4 separate regions of the Homo sapiens genome follow, and regions 1, 2 and 3 are each linked to region 4. The links are contacts of gene promoters, found by promoter capture Hi-C in blood cells and fetal thymus (Javierre and others, 2016). All regions are on one chromosome and are shown on one strand. The core of a region is centred on a gene start or on the middle of the fragment in contact, and the rest is flanking DNA. Distances in the headings are between cores, read along the strand shown. Region 1 holds the start of ZNF367 (zinc finger protein 367). Region 2 holds the start of GALNT12 (polypeptide N-acetylgalactosaminyltransferase 12). Region 3 holds the start of HABP4 (hyaluronan binding protein 4). Region 4 holds the start of TSTD2 (thiosulfate sulfurtransferase like domain containing 2).

Evidence for each region. Contacts are between HindIII fragments. The CHiCAGO score rates a contact against its expected background, and 5 or more counts as called.
Region 1: the fragment with the promoter of ZNF367 here is called in contact with the fragment with the promoter of TSTD2 in region 4 in 1 of 17 cell types (erythroblasts); the score reaches 7.4 in erythroblasts.
Region 2: the fragment with the promoter of GALNT12 here is called in contact with the fragment with the promoter of TSTD2 in region 4 in 1 of 17 cell types (fetal thymus); the score reaches 5.9 in fetal thymus.
Region 3: a contact is called between the fragment with the promoter of HABP4 here and the fragment with the promoter of TSTD2 in region 4, in 2 of 17 cell types (naive B cells and fetal thymus). The highest score is 7.5, in naive B cells.

Annotation. Positions count from the first base shown.
Region 1 is chr9:96,416,399-96,420,397 of GRCh38, forward strand. It overlaps ZNF367 (zinc finger protein 367), which reads right to left and starts at 1,972. Exons shown (of 5, transcript NM_153695.4): 1 at 1,215-1,972. The coding sequence starts at 1,634. RefSeq lists enhancers at 539-778, 2,253-2,786, 2,787-3,320, 3,837-3,999 and silencers at 1,139-1,378, 1,679-1,818, 1,929-2,588, 2,849-3,118. The HindIII fragment of the contact is 11,520 bases long and covers 1-3,999 here.
Region 2 is chr9:98,805,201-98,809,000 of GRCh38, forward strand. It overlaps GALNT12 (polypeptide N-acetylgalactosaminyltransferase 12), which reads left to right and starts at 2,470. Exons shown (of 10, transcript NM_024642.5): 1 at 2,470-2,869. The coding sequence starts at 2,499. It overlaps LOC124902229 (a long non-coding RNA gene), which reads right to left and starts at 2,380. Exons shown (of 2, transcript XR_007061689.1): 1 at 1,571-2,380. RefSeq lists silencers at 2,352-2,441, 2,542-2,611. The HindIII fragment of the contact is 2,789 bases long and covers 1,439-3,800 here.
Region 3 is chr9:96,448,443-96,452,502 of GRCh38, forward strand. It overlaps HABP4 (hyaluronan binding protein 4), which reads left to right and starts at 1,727. Exons shown (of 8, transcript NM_014282.4): 1 at 1,727-2,186. The coding sequence starts at 1,838. RefSeq lists an enhancer at 1,145-1,224 and silencers at 1,505-2,044, 2,055-2,114, 2,195-2,244. The HindIII fragment of the contact is 2,057 bases long and covers 1,410-3,466 here.
Region 4 is chr9:97,631,844-97,635,837 of GRCh38, forward strand. TSTD2 (thiosulfate sulfurtransferase like domain containing 2) reads right to left here and starts at 1,525. Exons shown (of 10, transcript NM_139246.5): 1 at 1,400-1,525. It overlaps NCBP1 (nuclear cap binding protein subunit 1), which reads left to right and starts at 1,978. Exons shown (of 23, transcript NM_002486.5): 1 at 1,978-2,072. The coding sequence starts at 2,039. RefSeq lists enhancers at 1,446-1,775, 1,544-1,838, 2,003-2,838, 2,396-2,475. The HindIII fragment of the contact is 4,009 bases long and covers 434-3,994 here.

The sequences.
Region 1 (3,999 bases), core at 722-3,221, 1.2 Mb before region 4:
TTCAAATGTTTACTGAGGTGCAGTTTCAAGAGCTGAAGTGTATAAAAACCTATAGTTTTATAACCTTATAATTATTTAATAATAATGCCACATAAAATATATCAATTTCCTCAAAACCCAAACAATGTAGTTTCAACATCCTTGTGACTGCATGTAAAATGATCAAACTCGTTTCAACTTATACATTATGTGCTGATACAGATGCAGTTATCCACTATGTGATTTACTTGTTATCTCTTGCAAATTGCTTATCTTATACAGCCACTTAACAAATGGAACCTGGATATTACCCTTCTGTTAGCACCATTCATTCATTACACAAATATTTTTTGAGCACCTTTATTGAGCATTTACAGAATGTAAGGTAGTAAAGTCATATAGTCTTCTAGATAGAAATACTCCTGGCTCACCTGGAGCTTACAGTCTACAGAGTTCAGTATAAGTCAGCAGAAAGTCACCCCAAACACATGCAGGACTAAAAGCCACAAAACCTCGACCTAGTCCCCGCTCTTCCACTACTGAGCTGTGCCATCGTGGGAAGGTCGCCTCACTAATCACTGTAAGCCCCAGCTGCCTGATCTGTAAAATAGGTTTGAACCAGTGGTAACGACCTTCCCAGCTTTAAGCAGTCGGAGACTGCAAGCAATTTTAGCGTCCCATTCCACTATGTGCTCTCAACACCTAGCAAGTAGTATGCTGGATAAATGAAAGGCAGCGAAGGCACAACTTCAGCCGCAGAACAGGCCCAGAAGTCCTTTCTTGCTCTTCGGCTGTCTCTGCAGGGCATCTTTTAACAGGGCGAGGGCGATCTGCAGTAATGGAGCAAACACTGTGCGCTCCCTGCCCTCTCGCAGTCGGTGGAACAACTCAAGGCCCTCATCCCTCTCGTTTCCTCTCGGAACTGAGGACTCGGCAGCCCGCCGGGAGGATGTCAGTGGCCGTTGACCCGGCCTCCCCAGCGACCCCGGGCCGCGCTCCCGCCCACTGCACCTGCCGCAAGGACGGTCTCCCGCGCCGCTCCCGCCTGTCACGTGACAGGCCCCCCCCGACTGGGGCCGGTTTTTGGCGCGCGGCAGTGACGTCAGCATCCTGTCAGCCGCAGCCCCCGCCGTAGCCGGATCGACCTCGCGTTTTCAACTCCGCCCCGCCCGCCGCACCGTTAACGGGCCCCGGCTGCCCCACGTCCCGCCCGCCCGCCCGCCCGCGCCGCTCACCTTGAGGTGGCCGCTGTCTGGGCTGCTCGCTTCCTCCTCGTCCTCACCTCCCGAGGCGGCGGCGGAGGCCGAGGCGGCGGGCGGGGGCGCGCCCCGGCCACGAAGCCCCGAGTGCTCGGCGGCTGCGGCTGCAGGCAGGGCGGCCGAGGCGGCGGCCCCCGCGGCCCCAGGGCTGAGCGTCACGTTGTGTGCGTTCTCGCCCCAGCGCCACGGGTACACCATGAAGTCGCTGAAGCCGGGGCTGGTGGGGATGAGCGGCGGCGGCGGCTCCGGCTCCCCTCCACCGCCGCACGTTGGCTTGATCGGGGTCGTCCTGATGACCGACACCAGCACCCGCTTCGGGGAGTCGTGGCAGAAGATGACGGGCGGCGGCGGCGGCGGCGGGTTCTCCGCCATGGGCGCCTCGAAGCCCCGGATCATCGCCCGGCCCGACCCCCAGCTCCGGCGGCCCCGGGCCGCACTCCTGAGCACCGCTCTGCCCCTCACTCGCTCTGCTCCGAGTCGCAGGCTCAGTCCTGCCGGCTCATGGCAGACTGACGTTTCCCGGAATCCTGCGCAGCAGCCACCTAACTAGTTGAGCAGACGGCACCGGCGGGCAGGGCTGGACCCCAGCCCCAGGTCAAGCGCGCCCTCCGCTCTTTGTACTCCGCAGCGCAGGCTGCAGGGGTGGGAAGCAGCGGGCGGCCCGGCCCTTGCGGTGACAGGAAAGCAGGACGCGCGGCGCTGAGCCCCCAAAAATAACAACCTGCCGCCGCGGTGCCTGCCCCGGCTTTTCCCGCGTTACATTTCGCGCCTGGGCGGAACCAGTCACCGCGAGGCCGCTGCCCGCTGGCCGCACCGGCGAGTGACAGGCGGCGCGAGCCAATGGCCAGGCCTGGCCTTCTTTCCAGCCGGCCGGGGCGGGGCCGGGTCTGCGCGCGGGTCCTTCCCACCTCGCCATTGGCCGCCGCTCTTATATTTTTTTCTGTCTGGAGGGCCAACAGCGTTCGAAACTCCAGTGGAGCGCGCGGCGTCTCCACTCGCCCGGACACACCCGCCTGCCGCCCCGCCCCGCCGTCCCTCCGCGTGGTTAGTCCGGGCCAGGGAGACAAGGGCGGCGGGGAGGGCGGCAAGAGGGCGGCTGATTGGACAGCGGCGGGGCGGGGTCGGGGGGGGTGGTGATCGTTGGGCGGTGGAGGCGCGCGCCCCGCTCGGCCCCGCCCGCCGTTGGTTGTTGGGCCGCGGTTCCCGCGCGCAGGGAGTTTAAAGGGCTGGGGCCCCGCCGCCCGCCCCGCCCTCGGTCCCACCACCCGCCCGGCGGCTGGAGTCTCTGCTGCCCGAGGTCCTGATGGGCACCCGGCGTGCCTGGTTTCTTAATCGAGTTCCGTCTGCTCAGCTGTTGCACGCTCTGTGAACCAGCCCTGTCAGCACCGCCCTGACTCCTCCGGGCCGATTGTGGGCCTCCGGTTCCCCATCTGTGGAAAGGGGAGAGTCCAGGAAGTGGCCTCCGAAGTCCCTGCGGGCCGCTCGCGGCGCGGAGGCCACAAGAGCCGGGCGAGAGTAGACACTCTCACCCTGGACTGATGCCCCGAAGTTGCCTCGGGGATCTCCCCACCCCGGCGACCCCGCTCTACCGAGCGGCTGCTCCGGGAGTCGGGGCAGCGCCCTACTTTGCTCGGCCCCCACCTGCCCCGGCCGCGTCCTAGTACTCGCGCCGGGACGCGCGGAGCCCCAACGTCCTCTGCCCGCCCCGCCCCAGCCCCGCCTGGCTGGCGCCGACCGCGGCCCGGGTGGGGCTCGCAGGCTGCAGAGGAAGGACCGGGCGGAGGGGTTGCCCGGCTTCCTACCCGCTAGATGTGGCCTGGGGAGCTGCGTTTTGTTCTTGGGAATACAGATTCCCAGGCACCGCCTGATTCGCGGTAGGGGCTCAATAAATATTTGCTGAATGGATGAATGAATATCCATTGGTTAAGGGTTAGGATTGGTAATTAAGTTAGAACACGACTGTATAATAACAGATAACTAAGCTGAATAGCTTTTCTCTCTGTGAAAGACACACAAATGCACAGCTATGACTAAATTAAGCCACAATTGTTTAAAAACAAATAAAGGAAACTGTACTGATATGAACAATTTCAAAAATGTATTTTTATTTTAAAAGGCAAAACAAGCAATAGTGTGATTTTATGTAAAATTGTTAAAGTGGGGAAAATACGTTTTTACTTTTAGACGTACATAAAATATCTGGCAAGATGCAAAAGAAACATGGATCATGGAGGGAAATTGTGTGGCTGGGAACAGAAGTGAAAAGATTTCAAGAAATACAATATATAACTATCTTTTGAACTTTGAACCAAGTGAAAGTATCCTTTTAAGAAATGAAACAGTATATAGCCTCCATTTTCTGGAGGCCTACTACAAAAATAGCATATATGTACTGATACACAATAATACATATGGATGTTTCACAGTTCACTCAACAATTGGGTAAGGAAGATATTTTTCCCATTTTATAAATGAGAAAAGTTGAGGCTTGTACAAGATTACATAATAAATCCTTTGGAAGAATAAGTCTGTACTGCCTGTGGATTATATTCAGTGTCTGCTGAGCAAAAGGAGGAAAAGGCTGAAAAATGGGACTCACACATTTCTCGGTCCCGTTTCTCATATTCCAAAACTTTCAGGGTTTAGGGGCAAATTTCATATTGTAATGGTTGATCTAGAAAGTTGAAAGTTCAGCCCTACTTTCACCTAATTTAGTAAACATACATTTTGTTTTTACAGTTTAATACCAAAAAACATATTT
Region 2 (3,800 bases), core at 1,220-3,719, 1.2 Mb after region 4:
TAGCAATAAACCCAAGGGCTTTACCTCTGTTGAAAAGATGCTAGATTTCCAACAAGCTCCCAGGTGGTACCAATGCTTCTGGTCTAAATATCATACTTCACTCAGCAAGGTGCTGGACATCTTCCCTTTGCCTTACTGACACTCTCTCCACTCTGTTTTGTGCCCCGGGAGGCTGACTGTGCAGACTGTATCACTCAATCTTCTCAACAACCCTGTTCAGGTGGTGCTATCATTAGATCACCATTTAATAGATGAGCAAATTGAGCCGAGATAAGTAAAGCAACTTGCCTGAGGTCACACTGCAATTCGTGATGGGGCTGGGTTGAGCTCAGGCAAGTGGGCTCCAAGGTTGTGTTCCGACCTCCTAAGCTAAGCTGCCTTTGCATCTCATTGCAGCCTGCCCAACAGTGAGTGGTGTGGTGGGAAATCCTGGACTGTGAGTCAGGAGACCCAGATACAAATCCTCCCTCTACCGCTTGCATGTTGTGTAACCTTGGGCAAGTTGCTTCACTTCTTGAGCCTACATATTCTCATCTGTCAACCTTGCAAGGTTGTCATAGGGTGAAATGAGAAAGTACATGAAAAAGAAAGTCCAGCAGTTTACAGCACACAGTGTGTGCTCAGTAAACAATAGCTTTTATCTGTTACCTGGGGCTTAAGTCCATGTCTTGTAAGGCCTAATTGCATTTCTCTTTTCTCTGTATCTGAACCTCTATTGAGAAGCATTCCAATTTGGCAAGCGGATCCAAGACATTATGAATTGTAATCCTTGTCTGTTTTCTAATCTGACCGCAGATCTTAAATGTGTTGGGTGTCTGAACAGAGGCCAAAGGGCTCAGGTCCAGACCTACCTAACACAACCGCCTTCTGGCATTAACCAGCAGCCTCCATTCTGCGTGGGAAGCAGGCGGGGCCCTGAGCACTGTGGGAAGAGCCACTTCCCTCTAGTCTAATATTAGCAGCAGGTTGTCCTGAGTGGGAGCTGCTTTGCATGGTTCATCCCAAAACCCACCCCCCTCCTGCAACCTGAGGGAGATTTCCTCTGGGGATACCAGTAGCCAAAGGCTGTATGAAGACAACAGCAAGTCAGATTCTACCTCTACCTGAGCCGCCAAGTTCAAGGTCCTCTCCCCACCCTGTGTCTCAGACCCCGCATTTATCAATGAGATAATTGGACCAGATTTGTGCTTTTTAAACTTTCTGGGCTTCTGGTCTCCTTGAGAATATTTGATAAAAAGCTTTGGACCAACTTCCCATGGTAAAACAAACAACAACAAATAGAGCTTACACTCTATCCTTCTACAGGGGATACAGAATGATTCTTTTCCCTGAGCTAGACACCAGCAGAGGGAGTTCCAGATTAATTTAAGATATGATTTGAAATCTCTGCTATCACTTTTACATTCAGATATCTGTGTAGACATTACTTCATCAGAGAAGCTTTCCAAAACCCCCAAACTAGATCAAGTTCTACTATTCTAAGCCCTTTTAGCGCCCTGTAATTCTTCTTCAAAATACTTAACACAATTCTAATTATCTTTTTAATATTTGTCTACTCCATTAGACTTACTTCGTCCCTGGCAGCTCAAGGCTCCCACAGCAGTGATCTCATGAACAGGGCGGCAGCTTCATGGCCTTTTTTGGTTGTTGTTTAATAGAAACAGGATCTCGCTTTGTCATCCAGGCTGCAGCGCAGTGGCGCATAGTTCACGGTAACCTCCAATTCCTGGGCTCACACAATCCTCCTGCTTCAGCATCCTGAGTAGCTGGCACTATAGGCACGTGCCACCATGCATGGCTAATTCTGAAATTTTTCTGTAGAGATGGGAGTCTTGCTATGTTGACCAGTCTCGTTTTAAGCTCCTGGCTTCAAGTGATCCTCCTATCTCGGCCTGGGATTACAGGTGTGAACTATCATGTACAGCCTTCATGGCCTTTTGCTCCTAGCCTCAGAGGTCACAGAGCTATCACGAGGCGAGCCAGGCGAGGGTTTGCTATTCAAGGACTCCAAAGAGTATGGCAGAGGCTGGGCCTGCAGAAGTCAGTGGGGCAGCGTGGTGTCTGTTGATCTCATCGCACCTCCATCTCCTCATCTGTAAAAGGGAGCTCGTAATCCTAGTTGATGGTTGTTTTATTGGACTGTGTAAAGATCAGATGAGATAATGGCAGTAGAATTCATAACACCCTGCAGGGTGTATTCAGCCAACACTTAGCGCCTACAATATGCCAGGCGCTAAGGGTTTTACCACCACTATCTCTTTAATAATGCACCATAGCCCAAGAAGGAAGATGCAAGTCTCAGCCAGCCCACTTGAAGACCCTGCCGAAATGAGCCACCCCGGGGGCTGCGCTTGGGCTGGCGCGGGGCTGGACGGAAAGGGGGCGGCGCGCAGGTGGGGCGGGCCGGGGGCGGGGCGGCACGGCGGTTCCGGGATCCGGGTCCTGGCCTCCACCGCCGCCTTGGGGCGCGCAGATCGCTGGCTGCAGTTGGCGGGCGCATGTGGGGGCGCACGGCGCGGCGGCGCTGCCCGCGGGAACTGCGGCGCGGCCGGGAGGCGCTGTTGGTGCTCCTGGCGCTACTGGCGTTGGCCGGGCTGGGCTCGGTGCTGCGGGCGCAGCGTGGGGCCGGGGCCGGGGCTGCCGAGCCGGGACCCCCGCGCACCCCGCGCCCCGGGCGGCGCGAGCCGGTCATGCCGCGGCCGCCGGTGCCGGCGAACGCGCTGGGCGCGCGGGGCGAGGCGGTGCGGCTGCAGCTGCAGGGCGAGGAGCTGCGGCTGCAGGAGGAGAGCGTGCGGCTGCACCAGATTAACATCTACCTCAGCGACCGCATCTCACTGCACCGCCGCCTGCCCGAGCGCTGGAACCCGCTGTGAGTGCACAGCTCTGGGGAGGAAGCCCGCCCTCAGAGCCCCGGGCCTCAGTTTCTCCATCAGAGCAGTGGCAGGGCGGGGAGCTGGGGTCTCCAGGATGGCGCGTCTTATTGAGTCTTTCTCCGAAGACGATAGTGTAAGAGCTCACATGGGGGCGGGGAGGCAAGAAAGTAAAAAAGACGAAAGTAGAAAAAAAATTACCAGAAATTGGCAAGTCTGTTAGTGATCTCTTAGCTCCCTTCTCCTTGAGAAGTTATCATCTCCCTGAAAAGGTGAGGGTCAGGGCTAAGCAGAAGGGTTTAAGGCGAGGACCCCCCAGCACCCAAAGGACAACCCCGCTCTGCCCGCCTCGCAGTGCCTCCGCGAAACTGACAACTCCTCCGGGCGGTGACCGGCTCCATTCATTCTCTGTGTGTGCCAGGGCCTAAGGGACAAACAAGATGCGAGGGAGCGCCCCACAGGTGAAGCGAAAGATGGCTGTAAGGCCCCCTCAGCGCTAGAAAGCCTCCTTGTGCTCTCCCTGGGCATTGGATTTCTGAGCTTTGGGTGGAGGAAGGCGGGAAGGGGCACGGGGTGGGAAGGGCTCCTTCTGGCCGTGATCCACCCCAGCTCACTCCTGTGGGTGGTGCTGGACTGGAGCCAGCGTGGTCAGAGGCCTAGTTCCTGTTGGAGCTACTGGCTGGGCAGGTTGCGCCCCTGCCTAGGTGGGGATCCAGGGCACACGCTGGCAGCAGGAGGAAGGACAGGTGGCTGCTGCCACCTTTGCCGCTGGGCCTCCCGGGCTCTCACTTTTTCTTCGAAGTGTCAGGGATCTTCCAAGTCCTTTTTTGAGCCCCTTCCTTACAGACTTTGAGGAAAAGAGGACTCAGAGAGGGGGTTCCCATTGGAGCTGGTGGTGGCAGCCTGCCGTGTGCACCAGGCACCTGCCAC
Region 3 (4,060 bases), core at 477-2,976, 1.2 Mb before region 4:
ACAGGCATCATCCCTGTCCTCCTTGGGAATAACACAAAATTCAATAAGTGAGTAACACACAGACTTTACAGCATTTAGGATTAGGAATTCCTTTGCTATTAAGGAAAGTAAAAGCTGGTCACAGAGCACCTGGCAAGATGCTCTAACTGGATGCTTTCGGATGAAACAAGCAAACACAACTAAGCGCAATCACATCTGTCACCTTACATCATAAGCCTCAAGTAGGGAGGTTCCCAAGTGGGTCCAGTCGGCAGCTCAACCTCATCAAGGATCTAGCCTTTCTCTATCCTGCTCTGCCATCCTCATGGCCACGCTAAGGAACAGCCACCCGAGGCATCATGTCTTCTCATGGAACAAAGACCAGGGAACAGAAGGGGGGGAGATCCCTTCTCAATCCCTTGTTAGGTGCAAGAAAAACTTTCCCAGAATACTTCTCAGATCTGTTCTGCCCGATTTGCCCCACAGCCTATTCCTAAGCCAATTACTGGCAAGGAATTGGAATCAGGTGCAATGAATAATGTATGATTAATCAAGTTTGAGGCTGGAAGGGGCCCTCTTCCCCTGGGGAATATGATGCCTGAACAAAATACAGGCTCTGGAAAAATGTAAGAGGGAAAGAACGGCTGTAGGATAGGCAGCCAAGCGTGTCTCCACCGCTGCCTATGCAAAGATTTCCTGGAGGAAGTCCAGTCCGGCGTTCTCTAAGCTCCAGGCCTCAACTGAATATCTCAAAAGAAAACAAATATCCAAACCTCAACGTGTCCCAGACTGAATTAATGATTCCCGTTAAAGTAGTGTCTTCCAGTGGTAACTAATACTATCATTCAGATGCTGGAGCCAGGAAAATAAGAGTCACCGTATCTTCTTCTCCCTCATCACCACCTCTAGCGCATCACCAAGTCTTTGAATCCATCTACTCTCTTCGCCTCCACCGCCACCATCCTAATCCCAGTCACTATCAACTCTTCCCTGGAGCTTTGCAACAATCATGTTTGGCTTCCCAGCATCCATTTGTATTTCCCTCCAAACTATTAGTTCACAGTGCAGGTAGGGTGGCCTTTTCAAACCCAAATCTGCTCATGCTCAAAACTTGCTTCCCACTGCTCTTAGAATAGAGACCACTTTGAGCTTGAATAGGCTGTGCACATCCCACCTCAAGACTGCTGCACTTGCTGTTCCTCCTCCAACCCCTTGTCACCCCTCTCCCTCGGCTTAACTGTCATTTCCCAATTAGGTCAGATCCCTTTGCTGCAGCCCGTAGAGAGCTCTGCGCCTGTCCTTCAGGGCACTTTTTCTCCATCTACAGACTCAGATCTGTGACAACACGGAGCTAGTATTTCCTACAACATAATGCCTGGCACACGGTAAGTGCGCAATATGTAGCTGTTGCACGGCTAAATGTATACATAAGCTTCAAAGCAGAGTGGCCCATAGCAAATACGGTCGCAGTCCCGGGAGAAAGCACACACAGCCGAGACCCCACCGCTTCGTCGGCGCCGCCTGGACCAGCCAGTAGCTCCGCCCCTGGGCCCCGCCCCTCCCTGCTGAGCGAACGGGGCGGGGCCCAGAGGTCGCGTGACGTGACAGCAGCCGGTCGGTGATTGGGTCTCCAGGCGCGCCGTGTCGGAAAGGGGGCGCACCCGCGCGCGCTGACTGGCTGTCTGGCGCAGCGGGGCGGACGGCGGCGGCGCCGCGGGGGCGGGCGCCGGTAGGGGCCGGACAGGGTAGGGCCCGGAGGGCGGTGGCGGCGGAGCGGGCGGCATGGGTCCTGGCCGCCGGCTTCGCTGAGACGCGCTCGCGTGGGCTGCCCTCCCGGGCCCGCAGTGGTCGCGGCGGCATGAAGGGCGCTCTGGGGAGTCCCGTGGCTGCCGCTGGCGCCGCGATGCAGGAGAGTTTCGGCTGCGTGGTGGCCAACCGCTTCCATCAGCTGCTGGACGACGAGTCGGACCCGTTCGACATCCTGCGCGAGGCCGAGCGCCGGCGCCAGCAGCAGCTGCAGCGCAAGAGGCGCGACGAGGCGGCGGCGGCGGCCGGGGCCGGTCCCCGCGGCGGCAGGAGCCCAGCCGGGGCCTCGGGCCACAGAGCCGGCGCGGGCGGCCGGAGGGAGTCGCAGAAGGAGCGCAAGAGCCTCCCGGCGCCCGTCGCTCAGCGGCCCGATAGCCCCGGGGGCGGCCTGCAGGCGCCGGGTACGCGGGGACAGCGGGGTTAGCGGACCACGGCTCGGCCCGCTGTGAGACTGGGGTCCCGGGGGCCGGTTTCAGGAGGAGGGGCCCGGGAACAGTAGGGAGAGTTGAGGGTCCTGGTGGCCGCCGAAGGTAGGAGGAGAGGGGCAGGGGTCACACCCCTTCCAGCTCTCGCCAGCCTCGTGCGGGGCTCCGGGGGAAACGCTGGCTTGGGGTGGGATAGGGCCCTCGAACCCTGGCACTGAGGCTCTACGGCAAGTTGGACGAAGTTGAGGGAGGTTGTCTGGGTGGCGTGTGGGGGCGAACGGCTGAGGTCGCTACCCCGGGGCTCCCACATCCAGACCTGGCGGGGACCTTCATCTTCCAGCCCAGCCTCTGCAAGATTGAGGTCGGAGCCACCCGAGAGCGCGGTGGGGAGGAGGAGGGCGCCTGGTCCCGGGGCTGGGGGCCTCTGTGATGCCGGAGGCCTGGGCGACCGCGGGGCGGCCTGTGACGTCGGGGCCCGGGCGGGGGTCCCCGGCGCGGTCCGGCCTGGCGCCTTCGCCCCTTCTCCGTCCGGTAGCTTCCAGGAGGCAGCCGGCATCGTATTTCAGTACTTCGTGTGGTGTTGATGGGATGTGCAACTTATAAATAGCTCAAGGCTGCTTTAAGAAAAGCGTTTTTAACCTTTCCAGCAAGAATATTCGGAGTTCCCCACTCCCTATTTAGCAAGAAAAACCGGTGCGCAGCGTGGTGTCCTGCTGCCTGTGGACGGGGAGGGTGCTTCAGAGTTCATTCTCTCACCGAACTGCGTCAGTGGCAGAGCCAGCAACACTCCACCTGTGTTTCCTGTTTTCTTGAAATGAGGCAGCGGTCCCAAGGTTTGCAGAGTGTTAGGATTAAGATGTGTAGGTTGACCATTCCTGCCGACGTTTGCCAGTGTGTTCAACTTGGCTTTATTGGTTTGTTCCTTGCTTGATAAAAATTGTGCATCGCAGCCCTGAGGAAACGTCTCAGGTTTAAGTATTAGGGCTTTGATGTGCAGCTGGGTAATGTTTACCTTTATTTGTGAAAAGCTAAATCCAGAGTCATCACTTGAGAATCAAGTCACTACAATAAAGATGTTGAAAATGATTTTTAAAAAAATGTTATTTACTATCTCACGACACTTTGGTAGGCCAGTAAATTTCTGAGCCTATCTAAACAGTGAGACTGGAGATACATTGTGCATTTTATATCCTGTTTTTTATCTTTTTCTCTTAAACTTATTTACATCAATATAATAAAGGAATTGAGGAAGGCTAAGCTTTTCTTCACCCTTTATTTTTTAACAAATGAAAATGCCGGGTGTGGTGGCTCACGCCTGTAATCCCAGCAGTTTGGGAGTCCGAGGCGGGCGGATCACGAGGTTAGGAGATCGAGACCATCCTGGCTAACACGGTGAAATCCCGTCTCTATTACAAATACAAAAAATTAGTCGGGCGTGGTGGCGGGCACCTGTAGGTCCAGCTACTCGGGAGGCTGAGGCAGGAGAATGGCGTGAACCCAGGAGGCGGAGCTTGCAGTGAGCCGAGATCGAGCCACTGTACTCCAGTCTGGGAGAAAGAGCGAGACTCCGTCACAAAAAAAAAAAAAAAAAAATTCTGTGCTTCAGAAAAACGTGAGACGAGTTAGTGCTGTTAATACATTGATTTTTAGCCTTTTTAAAATTGTCATGCATTTTTGTGTTAAGAATTTTAAGCAATTCCAAAATGTATGAGGTTAAGTGAAAATCCTCTTATTTTTCCTACTAACACTTTGCATTTATATACATAAATGCACAGAGCTATTTCTTTTCTTTCTAAACTTAAATGATATAAACTGGGTTGCAACCTGTTTCCTGCACTTGATGTTGTCAT
Region 4 (3,994 bases), core at 275-2,774:
AAAAAAAAAAAATCATACTCCAATGACTTCTCAATTCACTTGGATAATGTCCAAAGTCCTCACAGAGCACCTTCCCCCTACCTCTCTGATCTCATCTACCACTCTCCCGTTGCTCACTACCTATGATGGCACTATTTGTGGGTATTCCTGAATGGGTCGTTAGAATATATCAGCGCCAAGAGAGCAGGGGTTTTCCTTTGTTCACCTCTACATCCTCAGCATTCAGAACTCTGCCTGGCACCTAGGAGGTGCTAAATGCTAATAAATATAATATTCGTTGAATGAAATAAAACAGTGATTGGGTAACCAAAGAAGGCCTCACTAAGGACCTGACATTTGAGCTGAGACCTAAGTGACCAAGAGCCAGCCACGCAGATTTAGAACCAGAGACCTTCAGGTAAAGGAAATAGTATAAGTTCCTAAAATAAGAACAAGCTTGACTTATTGTAAGAACAGAAAGAGTGGTTGGAGTACAGTGAGGAGAAGTAGAACCCCACAGGCCATGGCATGGAGTGTGCAATGGAAAGTCGTAGGAGACTTTTTTTTTTTGACACGGTCTCACTTTGTTGCCCAGGCTGGAGTGCAGTGTGCGATCACCGCTCACTGCATTCTCGACCTCCTGGGCTCAAGGGATCCTCCCACCTCGGCCCCCAACCCTCCCCTCGAGTAACTGGGACTACAGGCGCCAAACACTAGGCTCAGCTAATTTTTTTTTTTTTCCTGTAAAGACGGTGTTCGCCTTGTTGCCCAGGTGGGTCTTGAACTCCTAGGCTCAAGCGGATCCGCCCGCGTCGGCCTCCCATAAGTGTTAGGATTACAAGCGTTAGCTACCCCGCCCGGCCGTCATAGGAGACTTTTAAACAAAGCAGTAACACGATCTGATTCTGGATTTGTGTTGAAAGCAGAGCAGGCAGGGTTTACAGATAATTGTTATGTAAAAAGAGGGAAAAGAGCTAAGAAAGACTCTAAATTTTTGGATTAAGCGGCCGACGGATGACGTCATTTACTGAAATGGGTAAGACCGAAGGAGAATTAGGCCGGGAGAGTGAAATTTCAGATGGCCATGGACAAAGCAGATAAGCCAGTATGGTGCTCATAAAGACATCAGGGGAGGGGACGCTCACACACAGGCATATAGGTACCCAATAACCCTTGAAAACAGATTACTAAAACAATCATTTGTTCCTTCCTAAGCAAACAACTTAAGGAAAATGACGGCCAGCCGGCAAGCCCGGAGCCGCACGCTCGCGTCAGGGCCGGCCTTTCCATACCAAGGGGCGGCACGTGCGGCACCGCCTCCCGCCCAGGCCCCACCCCGCATGCCGAGCTTGGCCCAACCTCTCCTCCCACTTTTCCCAAGGCGGCAAAAGCCGGAAAGTGGGAGTAGATGAGCACATACCCGCCAGTCCTGATCCTTTCTAAGGTCTCTCTTCCCTGCACTGTCTCCGCCTAGCAATTGTCACTGCTCACCGCCCTCGAGCCTATTCCCCCGCCGCGTATTTGGGTAGAAAAGCTCGCTCGTGACGTCACCAAGCTCCGGAAGTCTCCTGGCGTCGGCGCAAGGGCCGCCGGGAAAACCATTGAGAGGCCACCGGGAAACCATTGAGAAGCCCCGGAGGACCGGCCTGAGCGGAGGCGGAGACTAGAGCGGCCGCCGGCACGACCCGCCTTCAGGCGTACGACGACCGCGGCCCGGGGGCTCTGAGTGGCCAAAGCGGCGGCACTTTCTGCGTGGCCCCGGAAGGACATAGAGCGGAAGGCGGGAGAAAGAAGTAGCCGGCAGGCGGAGGCAGCCCGAGGGGGCGGTTGCATGTGTGCCAGACGTTCGTAGCCCACTGAGCTTCCTCACGCCGGCTGTCGCAGCGCCTAGCCCCACCCGGCGGCCTCTCCTGCGCTTCCGGGGCCGTGGCGAGCTAGTGCGCCTGCGTGCCGGCCCATCCGCGCGCCTTGCAGCTGTCCTTGCGTCGGCCAGCGGCCAGACAGTTCCTGCAGCGCTTACCGCCTGGCCTCTCGGTTCCGCGGCGCACCGGAGGGCAGCATGTCGCGGCGGCGGCACAGCGACGAGAACGACGGTGAGTGCCTGCGGCCCGGCCACGGAGGCCGCTCCCGGTTGGGAGCCGAGGCTCGGCGTCTTTGGGTGTCCACGGAAGAGACTGGAAGCTCTTCTCCCCGGGAACGTGCGGGGAGCCGCGGAGGGAAAGAGGAGAATATGGTGGCGGTGTGGTCGGGCGGCTTCTAGAAAGCGACTTCTCCCCCGCCCCAGTTCTTTGAGTCAAGGGCCGATCCTCGGGAAAGAAGGCCTGGTGAACCCCATGGGTAGACCCTTGGTCTCTAAGGATGCTTCAGAATTTCGTCCGTAAAACCACGGAGCAGGGAAGCACACCTGTGTCTGTGCTGCCGCCTCTTAGGGACCCACTGGTCCTAGTGTCTCGTTTTAACCTTCAAAGCTGCACCTGAAAAGGGCTCGGAAGAATTCACTGAAGGAAAGGACTGAGAGATCTCATGAGTTGCAGTCTGAACTCTGTTCCGGTAGTGGTTATCCGTTGATTTCACTTCTTTCAAGCTGCAGGGAAAGAATATTGTCTTACCTGCGCCCAAGAGGTCCCTAATAAACAGACACAGGTTACTGCAGATTTTGAACTGGCCGTAAGCGCATTTCCCTTGTGTGAGAGAGAGTGCTAGAAAACTAACTTCAGGCCTCTGAGAGAGTTAGAACAGGGGTTCCCATCTCCGTTTGGATGATTGTGCTCGTGGAGATCAGTGTTGCCTTCATAAAGATGGAATAATTCTAGTTTTAACAACAACAAAAAAAAGATGCTTATATTACACATAAGCCTTACAATCGGTCAAAAACACAAATCCACACACCAAAAAAGTAAAACTTAGAGTAATTCTATTGTTAACATTTTAGTGTATTGTTTTTTGAAGAGAGTGTATAGTAGTGGTTAAGAGATGAGACTTTGGAACCAGAGGGTTTAGGTTCAAAGCCAGACCCTACCATTTACTTGGTGATCTTGTCCAGGTTATGAAATCTCCTTAAACTTTAGTCTGTAATACAGAAGTAATGATATTTATATCTTCTGGTTTTTGTGAAGGTTAAATGAGGTAATACACATCAGCAACAATGATGTTTTATCATTTGCCAACGCTTAAGAGGCGGTAAACGTTAGCAGATGCTGTCAATGTAAGAAAAAAACCCATAACAGACATTTTAAATTGAGTAAATTTTATCTACTAACGTTTGTCTCTCCTTGAGTGTTGTGGCAGTTGAGGTGGAGGCAGAATCGCATGCATTTAGTTTTAATAGTGAAACACCAGATTTCTACGAAGGAATGGCTTGAGAGGATATTCTAGTCCAGCTTTCTATCTGACACCTAAGGGTCTAGAGACTGAGCATAACTAAGATGGAGGGACAGCTGTCAGTTCCCAAACACCAGCAAGAGCGAATCCAGTCCGGGGCTCTCTTCACTACACAGGTATAAATTAAATAACTATGCTGCGTGCTTTGATTTCTAACACGAGGTTTCTTGTGTAACCTCTGTACAAGGCACAGAAAATACAATTCCCTCCCTTTTTTTTTTTTTTCTGAGACGGAGTGTCATTCTTTGTCAGGCTGGAGTGCAGTGGCGCGATCTCGGCTTACTGCAACCTCCGCCTCTCAGGCTCAAGTGATCCTCCCACCTCAGCCTCCTAAGTAACTGGGACCACAGGCGCGGGCCACCACGCCCGGCTAATTTTTTTTTTGTTTTTGTATTTTTTGTAGAGACGGGGTTTCGCCACGTTGCCCAGGCTGATCTTGAACTCCTGAGCTCAGGTGATCCACCCGCCTCGGCCTTCCAAAGTGCCGGGATTACAGATGTGAGCTACTGCGCCCGCCGATAATACAATTTTCATATGCTTTGTAATTGACTAGTCAAAAACTAATATACTTCTCAAGTCATTACTTGGGGGCTGGAGAACTTGAGTCTTTTGTTCTTTTCTTTGTTGTTCTAAT